Linked DNA regions of Homo sapiens: regions 1, 2, 3, 4, 5 and 7 are each linked to region 6. Evidence: promoter capture Hi-C in human tissues and cell types (Jung and others, 2019). All regions are on one chromosome and are shown on one strand. The core of a region is centred on a gene start or on the middle of the fragment in contact, and the rest is flanking DNA. Distances in the headings are between cores, read along the strand shown. Region 1 has its middle 11 kb from the start of ZNF841. Region 2 holds the start of ZNF600 (zinc finger protein 600). Region 3 overlaps ZNF614 (zinc finger protein 614). Region 4 overlaps ZNF468 (zinc finger protein 468). Region 5 has its middle 6.8 kb from the start of ZNF816-ZNF321P. Region 6 holds the start of ZNF808 (zinc finger protein 808). Region 7 has its middle 7.5 kb from the start of ZNF468.

Evidence for each region. Contacts are between HindIII fragments. The study calls those that stand out against the background at their distance.
Region 1: a fragment that was not itself captured here is called in contact with the fragment with the promoter of ZNF808 in region 6 in 1 of the 25 tissues and cell types used here (adrenal gland).
Region 2: the fragment with the promoter of ZNF600 here is called in contact with the fragment with the promoter of ZNF808 in region 6 in 1 of the 25 tissues and cell types used here (mesenchymal stem cells).
Region 3: a fragment that was not itself captured here is called in contact with the fragment with the promoter of ZNF808 in region 6 in 1 of the 25 tissues and cell types used here (dorsolateral prefrontal cortex).
Region 4: a contact is called between a fragment that was not itself captured here and the fragment with the promoter of ZNF808 in region 6, in 6 of the 25 tissues and cell types used here (aorta, bladder, dorsolateral prefrontal cortex and 3 more).
Region 5: a contact is called between a fragment that was not itself captured here and the fragment with the promoter of ZNF808 in region 6, in 3 of the 25 tissues and cell types used here (H1 embryonic stem cells, lymphoblastoid cells and mesendoderm cells).
Region 7: a fragment that was not itself captured here is called in contact with the fragment with the promoter of ZNF808 in region 6 in 1 of the 25 tissues and cell types used here (spleen).

What each region holds. Positions count from the first base shown.
Region 1 is chr19:52,105,402-52,108,101 of GRCh38, reverse strand. No RefSeq gene overlaps it. Among named protein-coding and RNA genes, the nearest start is that of ZNF841, 11 kb to the right of the region's middle. The HindIII fragment of the contact is 6,263 bases long and covers 1-2,700 here.
Region 2 is chr19:52,785,336-52,788,040 of GRCh38, reverse strand. It overlaps ZNF600 (zinc finger protein 600), which reads left to right and starts at 1,250. Exons shown (of 6, transcript NM_001321866.4): 1 at 1,250-1,446. RefSeq lists a silencer at 1,092-1,241 and enhancers at 574-1,431, 1,432-2,290. The HindIII fragment of the contact is 28,786 bases long and covers 1-2,705 here.
Region 3 is chr19:52,019,469-52,022,188 of GRCh38, reverse strand. All of the region lies in intron 2 of ZNF614 (zinc finger protein 614), which reads left to right. LOC124904755 (a long non-coding RNA gene) reads right to left here. Exons shown (of 2, transcript XR_007067321.1): 2 at 1-938. Among named protein-coding and RNA genes, the nearest start is that of ZNF614, 7.6 kb to the left of the region's middle. The HindIII fragment of the contact is 3,065 bases long and covers 1-2,720 here.
Region 4 is chr19:52,839,354-52,842,053 of GRCh38, reverse strand. ZNF468 (zinc finger protein 468) reads left to right here. Exons shown (of 4, transcript NM_001008801.2): 4 at 1-2,700. The coding sequence ends at 1,329. Among named protein-coding and RNA genes, the nearest start is that of ZNF468, 17 kb to the left of the region's middle. The HindIII fragment of the contact is 4,505 bases long and covers 1-2,700 here.
Region 5 is chr19:52,968,344-52,971,043 of GRCh38, reverse strand. It overlaps the pseudogene ZNF702P. Among named protein-coding and RNA genes, the nearest start is that of ZNF816-ZNF321P, 6.8 kb to the right of the region's middle. The HindIII fragment of the contact is 4,137 bases long and covers 1-2,700 here.
Region 6 is chr19:52,526,301-52,529,000 of GRCh38, reverse strand. ZNF808 (zinc finger protein 808) reads right to left here and starts at 1,333. Exons shown (of 5, transcript NM_001039886.4): 1 at 1,290-1,333. RefSeq lists enhancers at 1,060-1,887, 1,888-2,700. The HindIII fragment of the contact is 14,459 bases long and covers 1-2,700 here.
Region 7 is chr19:52,863,779-52,866,478 of GRCh38, reverse strand. It overlaps a transcript of ZNF320 not described here. Among named protein-coding and RNA genes, the nearest start is that of ZNF468, 7.5 kb to the right of the region's middle. The HindIII fragment of the contact is 8,657 bases long and covers 1-2,700 here.

The sequences.
Region 1 (2,700 bases), core at 70-2,569, 420 kb after region 6:
ATGATATACTTTACTTTGTAGAGCAATTTTTGGTTCCCAGCAAAATTCAGTGGAAGGTACAGAGATTTCTCATATAGCTCCTTCCCCCACATATGCATAGCCTTCCCCATTGTCAACATCCTCCACCAAAGTGGTAGATTATCATCCAACATCCCTAGTTTATAGTTGGCTCACACTTGTACATTGTGTGGGTTTGGACAACTGTAAAATGGCACATATTCACATATTATGGTAACATACAGAGTACTTTGACTACCCTAATAATCCTCTTTGCTCAGTCTAAATTTGTGTATTTCTTTCACTTCTGTCACTTATTGCTTCACGTTTTGCAGCTGTTTTTTAGTGCATACACACTGATGGTTCTGAAATCATCTTTGTAAGTTGACATTTTTATCATGTAATCTCCCTGTTTTTCCCTGTTATTTTTATTTTCTCTGAAGATTACTTCTTTTGTTCCAGTCAATTTTGCAAGTTTATTTGCCAAAGTTAAGGATGCTTGCCTGTGACACAGCCTCAAGAGGTCCTGGCCACATATACCCAAGGTGGTTGGGGCGCAGCTTGGTTTTATACACTTTTAGGAGATATCAGTTAATGTGTAAGATGCACATTGGTTTGGTTTGGAAAGGCAGGGTAAGTCCAAGCAGGGAGGGTGCTTCCAGGTCATCGGGTAGATAAAAGACAAAGGTTGCATTCTTTTGGGTTTCTGGTAAGCATTTTCAAAGGAAGCAATCACACACATTTATCTCAGTGAGCAGAGGGATGATTTGAATAGAATGGGAAGCATGTTTGCCCTAAGCAGTTCCCAGCTTGACTTTTCCCTTTGGCTTAGTGAGTGTTGGGTGCCAAGATTTATTTTCCTTTCACATTTCCCCTTTTCTCCTTTAAAAATCTTTGGGAGAGGCTGGGTGCGGTGGCTCACGCCTGTAATCTCAGCATTTTGGGAGGCCAAGGCGGGCGGATCACGAGGTCAAGAGATGGAGACCATCCTGGCCAACGTGGTGAAACCCCATCTCTACTAAAAATACAAAAATTAGCCAGGCGTAGTGGCACATGCCTGTAGTCCCAGCTACTCAGGAGGCTGAGGCAGGAGAATCACTTGAACCTGCAAGGCAGAGGTTGCAGTGAGCCCAGATTACGTTACTGCACTCCAGCCTGGGGACAGAACGAGACTCCGTCTCAAAAAAAAAAAAATCAGGTTTCATCTGATCCTTCATGGCTAGGACAGTTTATTTTCAGGTGGGCAAGTCCCATGTTATTTGGAAAGCTCATTTTTAGCAGTTTGTAAAGTGTCGTGTCCTATGAAGAGAAAATAGCAGGAGGAAGGAAGAAAAACAAAGAATAATCCTGGAAAATAGATACAGGCCATATTACTCTGAAGTCCATACATCAGTAGATAGGTATGAAAGTGGCTTATGTATGTGAATAGGTTGCTGTTATTTTCTTCTGAAGTTTAAGTTGTCTAGCTTCAGTTATCAGGGCTTCAAGAAAATACAGTTTAGTTTTCAGTGATTTCAAATTAGAAAATATGGGGGAAAAAAGAAAAGAAAGAAGAAAAAATTGAAAACATTATTTCAGAGACATGTAGCTGGAAAAAATTAGAATTCAGTCCAAACTGTGGAAAATCATAAAAATTGAAAAACGTAAGCTGGGCGCCATGGCTCACGCCTGTAATCCCAGCACTTTGGGAGGCTGAGGCAGGCAGATCACGAGGTCAAGAGATCAAGACCATCCTGGCCAACATGGTGAAACCCCGTCTCTACTAAAAATACAAAAATTAGCTGGGTGTGTTGGCACATGCCTGTAGTCCCAGCTACTCAGGAGGCTGAGGCAGGAGAATCGCTTGACCTCGGGAGGCAGAGGTTGCAGTGAGCCAAGATCGTGCCACTGCATTCCAGCCTGGCAACAGAGTGAGACTCCATCTCAAAAAAAAAAAAAAAAAAAAAAAAGAATACTCAGAAATAGTTTCCAAATTCTGGAGAAAGCAGGTAGAGAGAAACAAATATGTTCCAAATTTTCTTCACAGCAGTATACTTTCCTCAATTGTTAAATGCTGTCGGCTGGGCACGGTGGCTCATGCCTATAATCCCAGCACTTTGGGAGGCAAGGTGGGCGGATCACCTTAGGTCAGGAGTTCGAGATCAGCCTGGCCAACATGGTGAAACCCCGTCTCTACAAAAATTACCTGGGCATGATGGTGGGTGCCTGTAATCCCAGCTACTTGGGAGGCTGAGGCAGGAGAATCGCTTGAACCTGGGAGGCTGGGAGGCAGGGGCTGCAGTGAACCCAGATCATGCCATTGCACTCCAGCCTGGGCAACTGTCTCAAAAAAAAAAAAAATTGCTGTCAATAGCTCAAAAGAAAAGTTTCCTTGACTCTGCAAAACAAAACAAAGGATCAAAAGAAAAAATCAGAAAGATTACTTTAGACTCCTATTAGTTCAGTCCATGCAGTTAATGTGTGTTGTGTTTGATATTCATGAACATTTTAGTTATCCATGAAAGTTTTGAAAGTTCTTTCCTCTATTCCTCTATTCTAATGTCACATTTTCCAAAGTTATCAGAAACTTGCATTCCAGAGCACCTATCAAATTCCTGTAGCTGATTATAAACCAACTTTTGAAGAGGATCCAAACAAGACAACAATTGCCTGTGGCAACAAAATGTCTCAGGACAGCTGTTATTAAAACCACAATTGACTATA
Region 2 (2,705 bases), core at 1-2,500, 260 kb before region 6:
TTCAGGGGCCACATCTGGATGCACATTTAGCTCTTTGTGGATCAGATCAGAGAATCTATGTATGAAAGTCATACATTAATGTATGCACTGGTATCTGTGTACTGGTATCTGGTAAATTCTGGAAAAGGAGACAAACTAGGGGAGATATTTCTTTTTCTTTTTCTTTTTCTTTTTTTTTTTTGAGACGTAGCCTCGCTCTGTCGCCCAGGCTGGAGTGCAGTGGCACGATCTTGGCTCACTGCACGCTCCGCCTCCCGGGTTCACTCCATTCTCCTGTCTCAGCCTCCCTAGTAGCTGGGATTACAGGCACCCACCACCACGCTTGGCTAATTTTTTTGTATTTTTTAGTAGAGATGGGGTTTCACTGTGTTAGCCAGGATGGTCTCGATCTCCTGACCTCATGATCTGCCCGCCTCAGCCTCCCAAAGTGCTGAGATTACAGGTGTGAGCCAGCGCGCCCGGTCTTGTTTTTGTTTGGGTTAGGCGGGCTCCTGTAGTTCCAGTTACTCGAAAGGCTGAGGCAGGAGAAGGGCGTGAACCCGGGAGGCGGAGCTTGCAGTGAGCCAAAATCGTGCCACTGCACTCCAGCCTGGGCGACACAGCGAGACTCCGTCTCAAAAAAAAAAAAAAAAAAAAAAAGTAAAAGAGCGAGAGAGAGATCAGGAAGAGGACCCTGCAGTTAGGGGGTGTTACTTTGTCGCCCAGGATGGCCTGGACCCCCAGGTTCAGGGATTCTCCCGCCGCTGCTTCCTGAGTAGCTGGGACCTCAGGCTTCCGCCTCGTGCCCGCATCCCTGCTGTGTTTAGGCAGCAGGTGGTGACCTCACTCCTCCCTGGCCTGAGCTCTCCGTCCCGCATCCCAGGCGGAGGCCCTAGGGAACACTTTGAAGCTGAGCACGGGGTGGACCCTCCCTCCTGAGTGAATGGAGAATAGAAAGGGAGAGGATTTCTGTTCTGTTCTGTGGGCCATCAGCATGAAATCGTATGTTCCGCCCTGGCAGGGCTTTGCATTTCACATTCTAGTTTGCATTCCCGTTCCAGATAATTCCAGGGCTTTTGAATCATGCCTCAGCCTTCCTGGCCGCTGTCGCCTCCAAAAACTCGAAAAACAGAGGCGCTGAGTGCGAGGCTGAGAAGCACAGGTCCCGCCCCGGGCCCTCCCTCTGCCGGTTCTAAAGGGCAAGGTCTCTCCGCCTGGGGCCCCGCCTCTACCCCGCCCAGGTCCAGCCAACCTGCCCCGGCCTGGCTTCAGTCCTGGGCGCGCACAAACCCGGAAGCGGATCGCGTGGAGTGAAGGTCCTACCACGGCGCGTGAGTTTTGCTCTGCCTTGGATTAAGTCTGCACTTCCCAGGTCCCCGGCGCTTCTGCCCCTGGGACGTGGGATCCCCACGGACCTGGAAATTCTCGCCTGTCTTCCCTTCACCCAGAGCAAATTGAGACGTCCCGGTAAGAGTCTGGAAGTTGCTTGCTTTTGGGTTTGAAGTCGCTCGGAGGCTGGTCCCGTCCCCGGTCTTTCTGCTATAGGGCAATGTATACACTTCCTATCGCGTATTTTTCCTGCTCAAAACATTTTTCTGACTATTCCCGCCCCGTGCTTTTTAAAGTCCTCACCCGCGAGGTGGATTCCAGCCCTGGGCGCCTCCCAGCCTCGCCCCAGTTGGCACCTGGAGCGCGGCGCCCCGGCCCCAGCCCCGGGGAGGCTGCGTCCTCTGCCTGGTCCTGGGATCCTGCAGGTCCCACCTTTGTCTTAGGGTGCCGTCGCCCACCACGTCCCTCCTGGTGCCGGGCCCTGCTGCTCCCCAAGTCTTCGCTTCCCCTGAGCCAGGGTTGGGGTGGGTCGCAGGGGCTTGTCCTATGATACCAGGTGTTCTTTCCTGTCCAGCTCCACCCCCTGGAAAATGCGCTTCTACGGGATGCAGGCGTCTTACTCCAAACCCGCCTGTGATTACTCCAAACCCGCCTGGGCCAAAGGGATCAGGAGATAGAGAGAGGGACTGAGAGAGCAGTAGAAAACCAGAGACAGAGAAAAGAAGAATGAGAAAGGCCCATAACAGATGGCAAAGTAGAGGATGGGTTAGGAATTTGCCAAGAGACAGCAAAAGTGAAAGAAAAAAAACTAAGAAAGCAGGAGGAGAAAAGCAACTGGAGAAATGTAGAGAAAAGCTAGATGTACAGAAAGATGAAGGACAGCAAGGTAGGGAGAGGGGCAGCAAAGAGGGAGGCTCACCAGAGTGAGGGAGAGGAGGAGGGATTTGGAGCCAGGGCAGACAGAGCAGAGTGGTGCTGGTGGCAAGAACAGATGGAGAACCACAGCAGGGAGGACACCTGGGGATCTGAGGTGCTGGAGAGTGGGGACAGAGGGGTATAACAGGGAAGAGAGAATTTAATAGGGAGAGCAGAGGAGACGGAGAGATAAGAGAAGAGGCTGTAATATATAGACATTGAGGAAGATTGAAAGATTGGGGAGAAAGAACAACAAGAGGTTAAATAAGGACCGGGCGCTGTGGGTCATGCCTGTAATCCCAGCATTTTGGGAGGCTGAGGCGGGTGGATCACCTGAGGTCCGGAGTTCGAGACCAGCCTGATCAACAGGGAGAAACCCCGTCTCTATTAAAAATATAAAATTAGCTGGGAGCGGTTGCACATGCCTGTAATCCCAGCTACTAGGGAGGCTGAGGCAGGAGAAACCTTTGAACCTGGGAGGC
Region 3 (2,720 bases), core at 154-2,653, 510 kb after region 6:
TTATGTTTAGATAATTGGAGAATTGGTTGTTAGTGTTGGAAAACACTGCACAAAAACATTCAGTGCTGCAAATCTTGCCAACACTTACTATGTTATCAAATTGTGTATTTTCCATGATCTAGATGATCCAGTATTATTTTGCCTTATTTTGCATTTTCCCATTCACCAGTGAGGTTCAGATCCTTCTCATCTCTTTGTTGTTTCTTTGGATTATTTATTCTGTCATAAAGTGTCTTTAGTCTTTGTTCATTTAATTTTTTTGTGGTCTTACTGATTTATAATTGTTTATCTTGACTGGATATTGATTCTTTTATATGTTGCAAATATTTTTCTAGAGTCTTACTTCTCTTTTAGCTTGTTCAAAATATTTTTTCCCATGCAGAAGTCATTTTTTTTAAAGCTTTTTACTTATATCATGAACATGTTTTCATTTATTCCTTTTTTTTTTTTCTTTATTTGAGACAGGGACTCGCCCTCTTCCCCAGGATGGAGTGCAGTAGCACAATTATGGCTCACTGCAGCCTCAACCACCATCTGCCTGCCTTAGCCTCCTGAATAGCTGAGACCACAGGCATCCACTACCACACCCAGCTAATTTTTTGTTCTTTGTAGAGAATAGAGACAGAGTCTCACTATGTTGCTCAGGTTGGTCTCAAACTCCTGGGCTCAAACTCTCCTCTGGAAGTACTGTAATTACAGATGTGTGCCCCACTCCTGGCCTCATAAGTTCTTCTTAAGTTTACATCTTATATTCATTGTCTATTAATACCTAAGAAATTACTCCAAAAGGTAGTGACTTGAAACAACACTTAAAAAAAAAAATCTCACACTTTCTGTGGCTCAGGAATAAGGGCATGGCTTACCTGGCTACTTTGATTCACAGTCTCTCATGGGGGTTGTCGTCAAGGTGTTAGCTGGGTTGGAATCTGATCTGAAGGCTGAAATGGGGAAAGATGCAGTTCTAAGCTCACTTATGTGGTTGTTGGGAGGATTCATTTCCAGAATGAGAAATGAGGTAGTTTAGTTGAGGTCCTCAGTTTCTACCTGTCTGTTTGTCAAAGCCCACTTTTAGTTTTTTGTCACATGCACCTCCCCTATGTGCCAAATTGTTTAATCAAAGCTAGAAAATGACAGATTCTGCTAGCAAGATGGAAGTCATATAGAGTGTAATCTTAAAGTGGCATCTTGTCACTTTTGCTGTATTCTTTTCTTTAGAAACAAGCTTTTAGGCCACTTCATACTCAGGAGGATGGTACTGCACAGGGGCAGGAACACCTAGAGTGTAATAAAGAATTTGGCTAGCCTTTGTTTTCGTTCCTGGGAGGTAACCTCTAAACCCTTGTAATTACCCAAGTTATGAGTGTCTCTGTCATTCATGGTGGGCCACTCATATTTGATAGTTTATATCTATATGTATAGTGGTGACTCATAGTAGATCCCTAGATAATTTATGGCAATGACATGACTCTGGATAGGGGCTGCCCATGCCAAAAAGCGCACTAAGTGATTAGAGAGTTGTGGCTTTGAGCCATGTAATACCAGTCAGGAAGGGGAGGGAACTGGAGACTGAACTCAGCTACATGGGCAATGCTTCAATAAACTGTGCCTACATCATGAAGTCTCAATAAAATCTCTGGACATCAAAGTTTAGGTGCGCCTCGCTGGCTGGCAAGTACTCTTGAATATTGTTACACAATGTAGTCAGGAAGATGTAATGCCACCAAGGATTCCATGAGGAGAGGACAGTCAGCAGCTTTGTGTTTGGAACCTTCCCAGACCTCACCCTGTGCATATTTTCCTTTAGCTGATTCTGATTTGTGTCATTTTGCAATAGTAAAGTGCTAATTGTAAACACAGCACTTTCTTGGGTTCTCTGAGTTGTTCTATCAAGTTATTAAACCTGAGGGAGTCATGGTAGCTCCACACATTTGTAGCCAGCTCGCTGGAGTTGAGGGTGGTCTGTGTAGCCTTAAGCTTGCAGCTTGTGTCTGAAGTGAGGGCAGTCTTGTGGAGGATTGTGCTTTTAACCTGGGAAGTTTGGCCTAACCCAGGTAGTTGATGTCAGAAGTCACTGCAGCTAGAGAATGAGATTATCAGAGGACACCTTAGAGTTGGCCTGCAAGATTTCCATCCAGTAATAAATTCTTTTGGACTGTGGAGTGAGGTAGAAATTTAACTTTACACTTACCCAGTCGATAGACATCTCACATAAAGATTTTGGAATGAGATAAACTGACCAGGCTTGAGCACTTGCGCACTCTCATGAGTCTACTTTCTTGACTATGCAGCATCCCACACAGTAATATAGCATAGATTCTCTTATCAGTATTTCCTTGGATCTTAGTTACCTCTACTTCACACTCTGCAGTTCTCTGAAAAGTTATTGTGAAGCAGGAGAATGACAGTTTAGTTGACAAACAGGTCCTTGATATCATGGTTGTAAGACAGCAAGTCATCTGCTAGCCATGTGTTTTAATCCCAAATGGCCTTCCAAAATTGGCCTTTTTTGTTGCAAGAATTAGGACTTTGAAGATTGTATTCCATACGTTTCTGGATTCTATTATTGAAATGTCAGCCATCAGTATATTTTGTTATTTCTTTGTAGGTAATCTGTCTTTTGTCTCTTGATGATTCTATAGTTTTCCCTTTGCATTTGATGTATGGTAGTTTCAGTCTGATGTGTCACACCAGTTGTGACTTCCTGCTCTGAACTTGTTGGG
Region 4 (2,700 bases), core at 45-2,544, 310 kb before region 6:
CACATTGGAGAATTTTGTTTCCATGAAATTGAGAAAGACATTCATGGCTTCGAGTTTCAGTGGAAAGAAGATGAAACAAATGGCCATGCAGCACCCATGACAGAAATCAAAGAGTTGGCTGGTAGTACAGGCCAACATGATCAAAGGCATGCTGGAAACAAGCGTATTAAAGATCAGCTTGGATCAAGCTTTCATTTGCATCTGCCTGAACCGCACATATTTCAGTCTGAAGGGAAAATTGGTAATCAAGTTGAGAAGTCTATCAACAATGCTTCCTCAGTTTCAACATCCCAAAGAATTTGTTGTAGGCCCAAAACCCATATTTCTAATAAGTATGGAAATAATTCCCTCCATTCTTCATTACTCACACAAAAATGGGAAGTACACATGAGAGAAAAATCTTTTGAATGTATACAGAGCTTCAAATCCTTTAATTGCAGCTCACTCTTAAAAAAACATCAGATAATTCACTTAGAAGAGAAACAATGTAAATGTGATGTATGTGGCAAGGTCTTTAATCAGAAGCGATACCTTGCCTGCCATCGTAGATGTCACACTGGTGAGAAACCTTACAAGTGTAATGAGTGTGGCAAGACCTTTGGTCATAATTCATCCCTCTTCATTCACAAAGCGCTTCATACTGGAGAGAAACCTTATGAATGTGAAGAATGTGACAAAGTTTTCAGTCGCAAATCACACCTTGAAAGACATAAGAGGATTCATACTGGAGAGAAACCATACAAATGTAAGGTTTGTGATGAGGCTTTCGCATATAATTCATATCTGGCAAAACATACTATACTTCACACTGGAGAGAAACCTTACACATGTAATGAATGTGGCAAAGTTTTTAATCGACTATCAACCCTTGCACGCCATCATAGACTTCATACTGGAGAGAAACCTTACAAATGTGAAGAGTGTGACAAAGTTTTCAGTCGCAAATCACACCTTGAAAGACATAGGAGGATTCATAGTGGAGAGAAACCTTACAAATGTGAAGAATGTTGCAAAGTTTTCAGTCGCAAATCAAACCTGGAAAGACACAGGAGGATTCATACTGGAGAGAAACCATACAAATGTAAGGTTTGTGACAAGGCTTTCCAGAGGGATTCACACCTGGCACAACATCAGAGAGTTCATACTGGAGAGAAACCTTACAAGTGTAATGAGTGTGGCAAGACCTTCGGTCAGACATCATCGCTTATAATCCATCGTAGGCTTCATACTGGAGAGAAACCTTACAAGTGTAATGAGTGTGGCAAGACCTTCAGTCAGATGTCATCCCTTGTATACCATCATAGGCTTCATAGTGGAGAGAAGCCTTAATAGTGTAATGAGTGTGGCAAGACCTTCCATCACAATTCAACCCTGTAAGTCATAAGGCAATTCATACTGGAGAGAAACCTTACAAGCATAATGAATGTGGCAAGGTTTTTAATCAAAAAGCAACCTTTGCACATCACCATAGACTTCATACTGGAGAGAAACCTTACAAATGGGAGGAATGTGACAAAAGTTTTCAGTTGTAAATCAAACCTTAAAACACATAAGAAAATTCACATTGAAGAGAAACCATACAGAGGTAAGGTTTGTGACAAGGTTTTTGCATATAATGCATATCTGGCAAAACATACTAGAATTCACACTGGAGAGAAACTCATTATAAGTGTAATGAGTGTGGCAAGACCGTTGGTCAAAATTCACACCTTGTAATTAAAAGGTCAAAATTCACACCTTGTAATTCATAGTGGAGAGAAACCTTACAAGCACAATGAATGTGACATGGTTTTTAATCAACAATCACACCTTGCAAGTCATCATAGACTTCATACTGCATAGAAATCTTACAAACGTGAACAATGTGACAAAGTTTTCATTCACAAATCCAGCTTCAAATACATAGGAGAATTCACACTGGAGAAAAGCCATAGAAATGTAAGGTTTGTGACAAGGCTTTCGGGAATGATTCACACGTGGCACCCCATACTAGAATTCACACTGGAGAGAAACCTTACAAGTGCAATGAGTGTGGCAAACCCTTTAGTGGGCAGTCACCACTTATTCACCATCAAGCAATCCATGGTATAGGGAAACTTGACTAATGTAATGATTGTCACAAAGTTTTCAGTAATGCTACAACCATTGCACATCATTGGAGAATCCACAGTGAAGAGATCTTACAAGTGTAATAAATGTGGCAAATTTTTCAGACATCGTTCATGCCTTGCATTTCACTGGTGAACTCATGCTGGAGAGAAACCTTATAAATGTCATGATTGAGGCAAGGTCTTCAGTCAAGCTTCATCCTATGCAAAACATAGGAGGATTCATACAGGAGAGAAACCTCACAAGTGTGATGATTGTGGCAAAGCGTTTACTTCACATTCACACCTCATTAGACATCAGAGAATCCATGCTGGACAGAAATCTTACAAATGTCATCAGTGTGGAAGGGTCTTCAGTCCAAGGTCACTCCTTGCAGACCATCAGACAATTCCTTTTGGAGACAGTTGTTTCAAATGCAGTGAGTATAGCAAACCATCAAGCATTAATTGACATTAGAGTCAAATCAGCCTTGACCTGAGTTTGTTGATTTAACATTGATTTCAAGCATTAATTGCCATTAAACTGTTTATGTTAAGAGGATTGCACTGGGGGCCATGGCTCATGCCTGTAATTCCAGCACTTTGAGAGGCA
Region 5 (2,700 bases), core at 80-2,579, 440 kb before region 6:
AGGCTTCTGTAGAAATGATTTAAAGGACTTGTAATCGCCCTTTATTTATTAAAGAACCTTACTCCTTTTGTGTTCTTAAACTTTGAAAATCATGTTTGGGAATTTCAAAATAAATATTGTTTTTTGTGTCCTAGTTACATATTTCAGTATTATTTACCATCTGCACTTAATTGGAAACCTATTGTTGTTTATATTTTGTAGCTATCTCTTCCAAATGCATGACAAGGAAGTTCTCATCAAGAAGGCAAGGCAATACAGAAGTGTTCCACACAGGGACATTGCAAAGACAAGCAAGTCATCACACTGGAGATTTTTCCTTCCAGGAAATTGAGAAAGATTTTCAGGACTTTGAGTTTCAGTGGCAAGAAGATGAAAGAAATGGCCATGAAGCACTCATGACAGAGATAAAAAAGTTGACAGGTAATACAGACTGATATGATCAAAGGCATGCTGGAAACAAACCTATTAAAGATCAGCTTGGATCAAGCTTTCATTCACATCTGCCTGAACTGCATATATTGCAGAGCAAAGGGAAAATTGATAGTCAAGATGAGAAGTCTGTCAATGATGCTTCCTCAGTTTCAGCATCCCAAAGAATTTCTTGTATTCCTAAAACCCATATTTCTAATAAGTATGGGAATAATTTCCTCCAGGAAGCACACATGAGAGAAAAATCTTTCCAATGTAATGAGAGTGGCAAAGCCTTTAATTGTAGCTCACTGTTAAAAAAATGTCAGATAATCCATTTAGGAGAGAAAAAATATAAATGTGATATATGTGGCAAGGTCTTTAATCAGAAGCGATACCTTGCATACCATCATAGATGTCACACTGGTGAGAAACCTTACAAGTGTAATCAGTGTGGCAAGACCTTCAGTTACAAGTCATCCCTTGTAATTCACAAGGCAATTCATACTGGAGAGAAACCTCACAAGTGTAATGAATGTGGCAAGGTTTTTAATCAAAAAGCATATCTTGCAAGTCATCATAGACTTCATACTGGAGAGAAACCTTACAAATGTGAAGAATGTGACAAAGTTTTTAGTCGCTAATCACACCTTGAAAGACATAGGAGAATTCATACTGGAGAGAAACCGTACAAATGTAAGGTTTGTGACAAGGCTTTCAGACGTGATTCACACCTGGCACAACATATTGTAATTCACACTGGAGAGAAACCTTACAAGTGTAATGAGTGTGGCAAGACCTTTGTTCAAAATTCATCTCTTGTAATGCATAAGGTCATTCATACTGGAGAGAAATGTTACAAGTGTAATGAATGTGGCAAGGTTTTTAATCACAAATCAAACCTTGCATGTCATCATAGACTTCATACTGGAGAGAAACCTTACAAGTGTAATGAATGTGGCAAGGTTTTTAATTGAAAATCAAACCTTGAACATCATCATAGAGTTCATATCGGAGAAAAACCTTACAAATGTGAAGAATGTGACAAAGTTTTCAATTTCAATTCACGCCTTGAAATACATAGGAGAGTTCATACTGGAGAGAAACCATAGAAATGTAAGGTTTGTGACAAGGCATTCGGGTGTGATTCACACCTGGCACAACATACTAGAATTCACACTGGAGAGAAACCGTGCAAGTGTGATGAGTGTGACAGAGCCTTCAGTGGTCAGTCAACACTTATTCACCATCAAGCAATCCATGTCATAGGGAAACTTTACTAATGTAATGATTGTCACAAAGTCCTCAGTAATGCTACAACCATTGCAAATTATTGGAGAATGCATAATGAAGTGAGAACTTACAAGTGTTATAAATGTGGCAAATTTTTCAGACTTCGTTCATACCTTGCAGTTTATCAGCGAACTCATACTGGAGAGAAACCTTACAAATGTGATGATTGTGGCAAGGTCTTCAGTCAAGCTTCATCTTATGCAAAACACAGGTGAATTCATACAAGAAAGAAACCTCACAAGGGTGATGATTGTGTCAAAGCCTTTATTTCAGGTTCATGCCTCATTACACATCAGAGAATCCATACTAGACAGAGATCTTACAAAAGTCATATGTGTGGCAAGATCTTTAGTCTGAGGTCACTCCTTGCAGGACATCAGGAAATTCATTTTTGAGGTAATAATTTCAAATGCAATGAGTATAGCAAACCATCAAGCACAATTGATGTTAGATTCAAATCAGCATTGAGTTCAGTTTGAGTTGACTTAACATTGAGTTCAAGTATTTGTTGAGATTAAAGTGTTTATGTTAAGAGGATTAGGCCAGGTGCGGTGGCTCACACCTGTAATCCCAGCACTTTGGGAGGCCAAGACAGGTAGATCACTTGAGATCAGGAGTTTGAGAGCAGCCTGGCCAACAGAGGTGAGCACCTTTCCCAGTCTGTTTTTTGTTTCTTCAACAAAAACTGATAGAGATTTTTATGGGTATTGTGTTGAATCAAAATCACATTGGGTTATGTAATCATTTAACAGTATTAATTTTTCCAAAACATCAATATGGGTTATATCTTTATATATGTTTTTAATCATTTTGATCAATGTTTGTAGATTTCAATGTATGAATTTCTCACTTCTTTCCATTTATTCCTATTTCTTACTTTAAGTTCTCTAGCAAATGGAAGTGTTTTTAAATTTTCATTTAAAATTGTTTATTGTTAATGTATGAAAATTCAACGAATTTTTGGTGCTGATATTGTATTGTGCAAATCTACTGATGTGT
Region 6 (2,700 bases), core at 84-2,583:
CCCTGGGATTCTGCTCTTCATTTTGTACCCCTCTTCTCTTCTGCTGTTTATCCCCCTTCTTCCCTCTATTCCTTCTCTTCCATCTCTTCTGCTCCATCCTCGCAACTTATTTAACCTCTTATTGCTCCTTCTCCCCAATCTTTCAATCGTCCTCAATCTCCATCTATTTCTGCCTCTTCACCCATCTCTGCGCCTCCTCTGCTCTCCCTGTTAAATTCTCTCTTCCCTGATATACTCCCCTGTCCCCACTCTGTGTCACCCCAGATCCCCAGGTGTCCTCCCTGCTGTGTTTCTCCCTCGGTTCTCCTTGACACCAGCACCACTCTGCTCTGTCTGCCCTGGCTCCAAATCCCTCCCTCTCTCCCTCACTCTGATGAGCCTCCCTCTTTGCTGCCACTCTCCCTACCTTGCCGTCCTTCATCTCTGTGTACATCTAGCTTTTCTCTACATTTCTCCAGTTGCTTTTCTCCACCTGCTTTTCTAGGTATTTTGTTGCTTTCTTTTTCCACTTTCACCATATCTTGGCATATCCCTCACCAATCCTCTATTTTGCCATCTGTTATGGGCCTTTCTTATTCTTTCTCTGTCTCAGGTTTTCTACTGCTGTCTGTCTCCTGATCCCTTCGGCCCACACAATCGCAGGAGGGTTTGGAGTAAGACGCCTGCATCCCGGAGGAGCGCGTTTTCCAAGGGCTGGAGCTCGGCAGGCAAGAAGACCCCATGTCACAGGACAGGGCCCTGCGTCCTTCCCAGTGTGGGTTCAATGGAAGCGGTGACTGCGGAGGAGAGACCTGGGGAGCCGCAGGCTCTGGCACGAGTAGGGAGGTGGGAGGAGGGGGGACGGCGCCTTGGGAGAAGGATGGGGTCTGCAAGATCCCAGGACCAGGCAGAGGACGCGGCCTCCCTGGGACTGGGGCTGCGGCGCGACGCTCCAGGGGCCGACGAGGGGTGGCTGGGAGGTGCGCCCCGGGCAAGAATCCACCTCGTGGGTGAAGACTTTAAATAGCGCGAGGAGGGAAGAGTCAGAAGAAGGTTTTGAGCAGAAAAACTACGCAATAGAAAGTGTATACATTGCCCTATAGCAGACAGACCCGGGACGGGACCAGCCTCCAGACGACTTTAAACCCGAAAGGAAGCGACACCCGGCCTCTCACTGGGCTGTCTCAATTTGCTCTGGGCGAAGGAAGACGGGCGAGAATTTCCAGGTCTGTGGGGACCCCACGTCCCAGGGACAGAAGCGGCGGGGACCTGGGAAGCGGAGACTTAATGCAACACAGAGCAAAACTCACCATGGCGACGTGACCTTCACTCCACCCGATCCGCTTCCGGGTTTGCGTTAATCTCCGCGCGCAGGACGGAAGCCAGGCCTGGGCGGGAGGTGGGAGGAGGTGGGCGGGGCCTGGGCGAGGTAGCGGCGGGGCGCGAGGCGCTGAGACCTTGCCCTTTAGAACCGGCAGAGGGCGGGGCCGGGGCGGGGCCGGGGCGGGACTTGCGCGTCTTTCAGCCTCTCTCCTAGCGTCTCTGTTTTTAGGTTGTGGAGGCGAGAGCGCCAGAAAGTCTGAGGCATGATTCCAAAGCCCTGGAATTGTCTGGAACCGGGATGCAAACTAGAATGTGAAATGCAAAGCCCTGCCTGGGCGGCATGTACGATGTCATGGTGACGGCCCACGGAACAGAATAGATGTCCTCTCCCTTTCTATCTCCATTCACTAGGGAGGGAGAGTCCACCCTGAGCTCAGCTTCAGAGACTTCCTTAAAGCCACCGCCAGGGGTGCGGGACGGAGTGCTTAGGCCAGGAAGGAGTGAGGTCACCACCTGCTGCTTAAACACAGCAGAGGCGCGGGGGCGGGAGCCTCAGGTCCCAGCTACTCAGGAAGCAACGGAGAGAATTGCTGAGCCTGGGGTCCCAAGCCAGCCTGGGCGACAAAGTAACACCCACTGCGGCAGGTCTCCCTTCCTAGTCTCTCTCTCTCTCTTTCCCTTTTTTTTTTTTTGGAGACAGAGTCTCACTCCGTCGCCCAGGCTGGAGTGCCGTGGAGTGATCCCAGCTCACTAGAACTTCCGCCTCCTGGTTTCAAGCGATACTCCGGCCTCAGCCTCCCGAGTAGCTGGGACTACAGGCATGCGCCACCATGCCCAGTTAATTTTGTATATTTAGTAGAGACAGGGTTTCACCATGTTAGCCAGGCTGAACTCCCGACCTCAGGTGATCCGCCCACGTCGGCCTCCCAAAGTGCTGGGATTACAGGCGTGAGCCACCGCGCCCGGGCCTTTTCCCTTTTTAAAAAAAAAAAAAAAACTTTTTTAAATAAAATTTTTGATGGTGTGACATAGGGATCCAACATTACTCTTTTCCATGTGGATATCCAGTTAGTTGTCCCAGCACATTTGTGGAAGAGATCTATTACTTTATTATTATTATTATTATTATTACTATTATTGAGACACAGTATTTCTGTTGCCCAGGCTGGAGTGCAGTGGCGAGATCTCAACTCAATGCAGCCTCTGCCTCCTGGGTTCAAGCGATTCTCCTGCCTCAGCCTCGGGAGCAGCTGGCATTACAGGCGCGTGCCACGATGCCCGGTTAATTTTTGTATTTTTCATAGAGACGGGGTATCACTACGGTGACCTGGCCGGTATCGAACTCCTCACTTTAAGTTATTTGCCTGTGTCAGCCTCCCAAAATGCTGGGATTACATG
Region 7 (2,700 bases), core at 103-2,602, 340 kb before region 6:
TGAATGAAGACGTGTGAGTCCTTCCCAGTTTTTCACCGTTACCAAGAATGCCACCCTGGCTGCCTCTGAGTGTGTTGACTTCACTACATGTATGTGGAGGGTTCCTGCAGGAGGGGTTTCACAGTTCTGACCTCAGGTGATCTGCCCACCTCGGCCTCCCAGATTGCTGGGATTACAGGCATGAGTCACTGCACCCAGCGCATGAGTAACTGCATCCAGCCTTATGATTTTATATATATATATATGTATAATCATATATATAAATATATGTATAATCATATATATAAATATATGTATAATCATATATATAAATATATGTATAATCATACATATATAAATATATGTATAATCATACATATATAAATATATGTATAATCATACATATATAAATATATGTATAATCATATATATAAATATATGTATAATCATATATATGTATAATCATATATATAAATATGTATAATATATAAATATATATGTATAATCATATATATAAATATATGTATAATATATAAATATATATGTATAATATATAAATATATGTGTATAATCATATATAAATATATGTGTATAATCATATATATAAATATATGTATAATATATAAATATATATGTATAATATATAAATATATGTGTATAATCATATATAAATATATGTGTATAATCATATATATAAATATATGTGTATAATCATATATATAAATATATGTGTATAATCATATATATAAATATATGTGTATAATCATATATATAAATATGTGTATAATCATATATAAATATATGTATAATATATATGTATAATCATATAATATATATGTATAATCATATATAAATATATATGTATAATCATATATAAATATATATGTATAATCTCATATATAAATATATGTATAATCATATAAATATATATGTATGATCATATAAATATATATGTATAATCATATATAAATATATATGTATAATATATAAATATATATGTATAATATATATGTATTATATATATATGTAATATATATATATGTATTACATATATATATATATATAAAGCCTGGACCCTGCACAGAACGCTTTATACAGGGCCGTGATTTGGGAGAACTACAGGAACCTGGAGTCTGTGGGTGAGGAAAATGTCCCTCCAGACCATATATATATATTTGAAATGGGGTACCGTTCTTCTCACCCAGTCTGGAGTCCAGTAGCACGATCTCAGCTTGCTGCAACCTCTGCCTTCTGGGTTCAAGCGATTCTTCTGCCTCAGGCTCCCCAGTAGCTGGGATTACAGGTGCCCACGACCACACCCAGCTCATTTTTGTATTTTTAGTAGCGACGTTGTTTCATCACTTTGACCAGGCTGGTCTCCAACTCCTGACCTCAGGTGATCTGCCCACCTCTGCCTCCCAAAGTGCCAGGATTGCAGGCATGAGCCACTGTGCCCCACCTTTTTAAAAATTTTATTTTTTATTTTTGAGAAGGAGTCTCGCTCTATCACCCAGGCTGGCGTGTAGTGGCCCGATCTCGGCTCACTGCAAGCTCTACCTCCCAGGTTCACACCATTCTTCTGCCTCAGCCTCCTGAGTAGCTGGGACTACAGGTGCCTGCCACCACGCCTGGCTAATTTTTTGTACTTTTAGTAGAGACGGGATTTCACTGTGTTAGCCAGGATGGTCTCGATCTCCTGACATCATGATCTGCCTGCCTCGGCCTCCCAAAGTGCTGAGATTGAAAGCGTGAGCCACCGCACCTGGCCAATTTTTATTTTTATTTTATTGAGATGGAGTGTCTCTCTGTTGCTCCAGCTATAGTGCACTGATGTTATCTTGGCTCACTGCATCCTCTGCCTCCTGGGAGAAGAGGAGTTTTCACCATGTTGTTCAGGCTGATCTCAAACTCTTGACCTTGTGATCTGCCTCCCTCCACTTCTCAACGTGCTGGGATTACACGCTTGAGCCACTATGGCTGGCCCTGACTTTCTTTTCTTTAGGCCACTGGACTTTGTCATCTCTGAGACTGCACTTGTATTTTAGCTCATCCAGATAATGAATATCAAGTGTTAGGCTGAACATAATATCTAACGTATTTATAGAGAAAACACTATATTTAGTTTTTATTTGTAAATTTTTTACTTAGGGGATCTTGAAATCTCTCATGGAAAAGTACAATAAAATGCAACGATAGAGAAAAGATGTTCAAAAATACCTTAATACGGGTTTGTCAGAACATATTCTTTGGCCCAATCGATACTTAATTTCCCATTTCTCATTTCGTGTGAAGGTGATAACGCCTCCATAATGTTTTATTTAAACGTGTTTCTCATTTTAGGGATACTTGACTTTCAGAGATGTGGCTATAGAGTTCTCTTTGCTGGAGTGGAAACGCCTGGACCCTGCACAGAACGCTTTATACAGGGCTGTGATGTGGGAGAACTACAGGAACCTGGAGTCTGTGGGTGAGGAAAATGTTCCTCCAGACATGAAGAATCTGTCCTTGTGTATCTTGGCTTTTCCTGGTTTTGTATTCTCTTTTGTGATTTTGCCCCATACGTGCTTTTGATGTACACAGCTGGGATTCCAGGCACGTGCCACCATGCCCAGCATGTTATTTTGTATCTTTAGTGGAGATAGGGTTTTGCCATGTTGGCCAGGCTCGTCTCGAACTCCTGACCTCCATACCCACCCGCCTCGGCCTCTAAAGTGCTGGGAT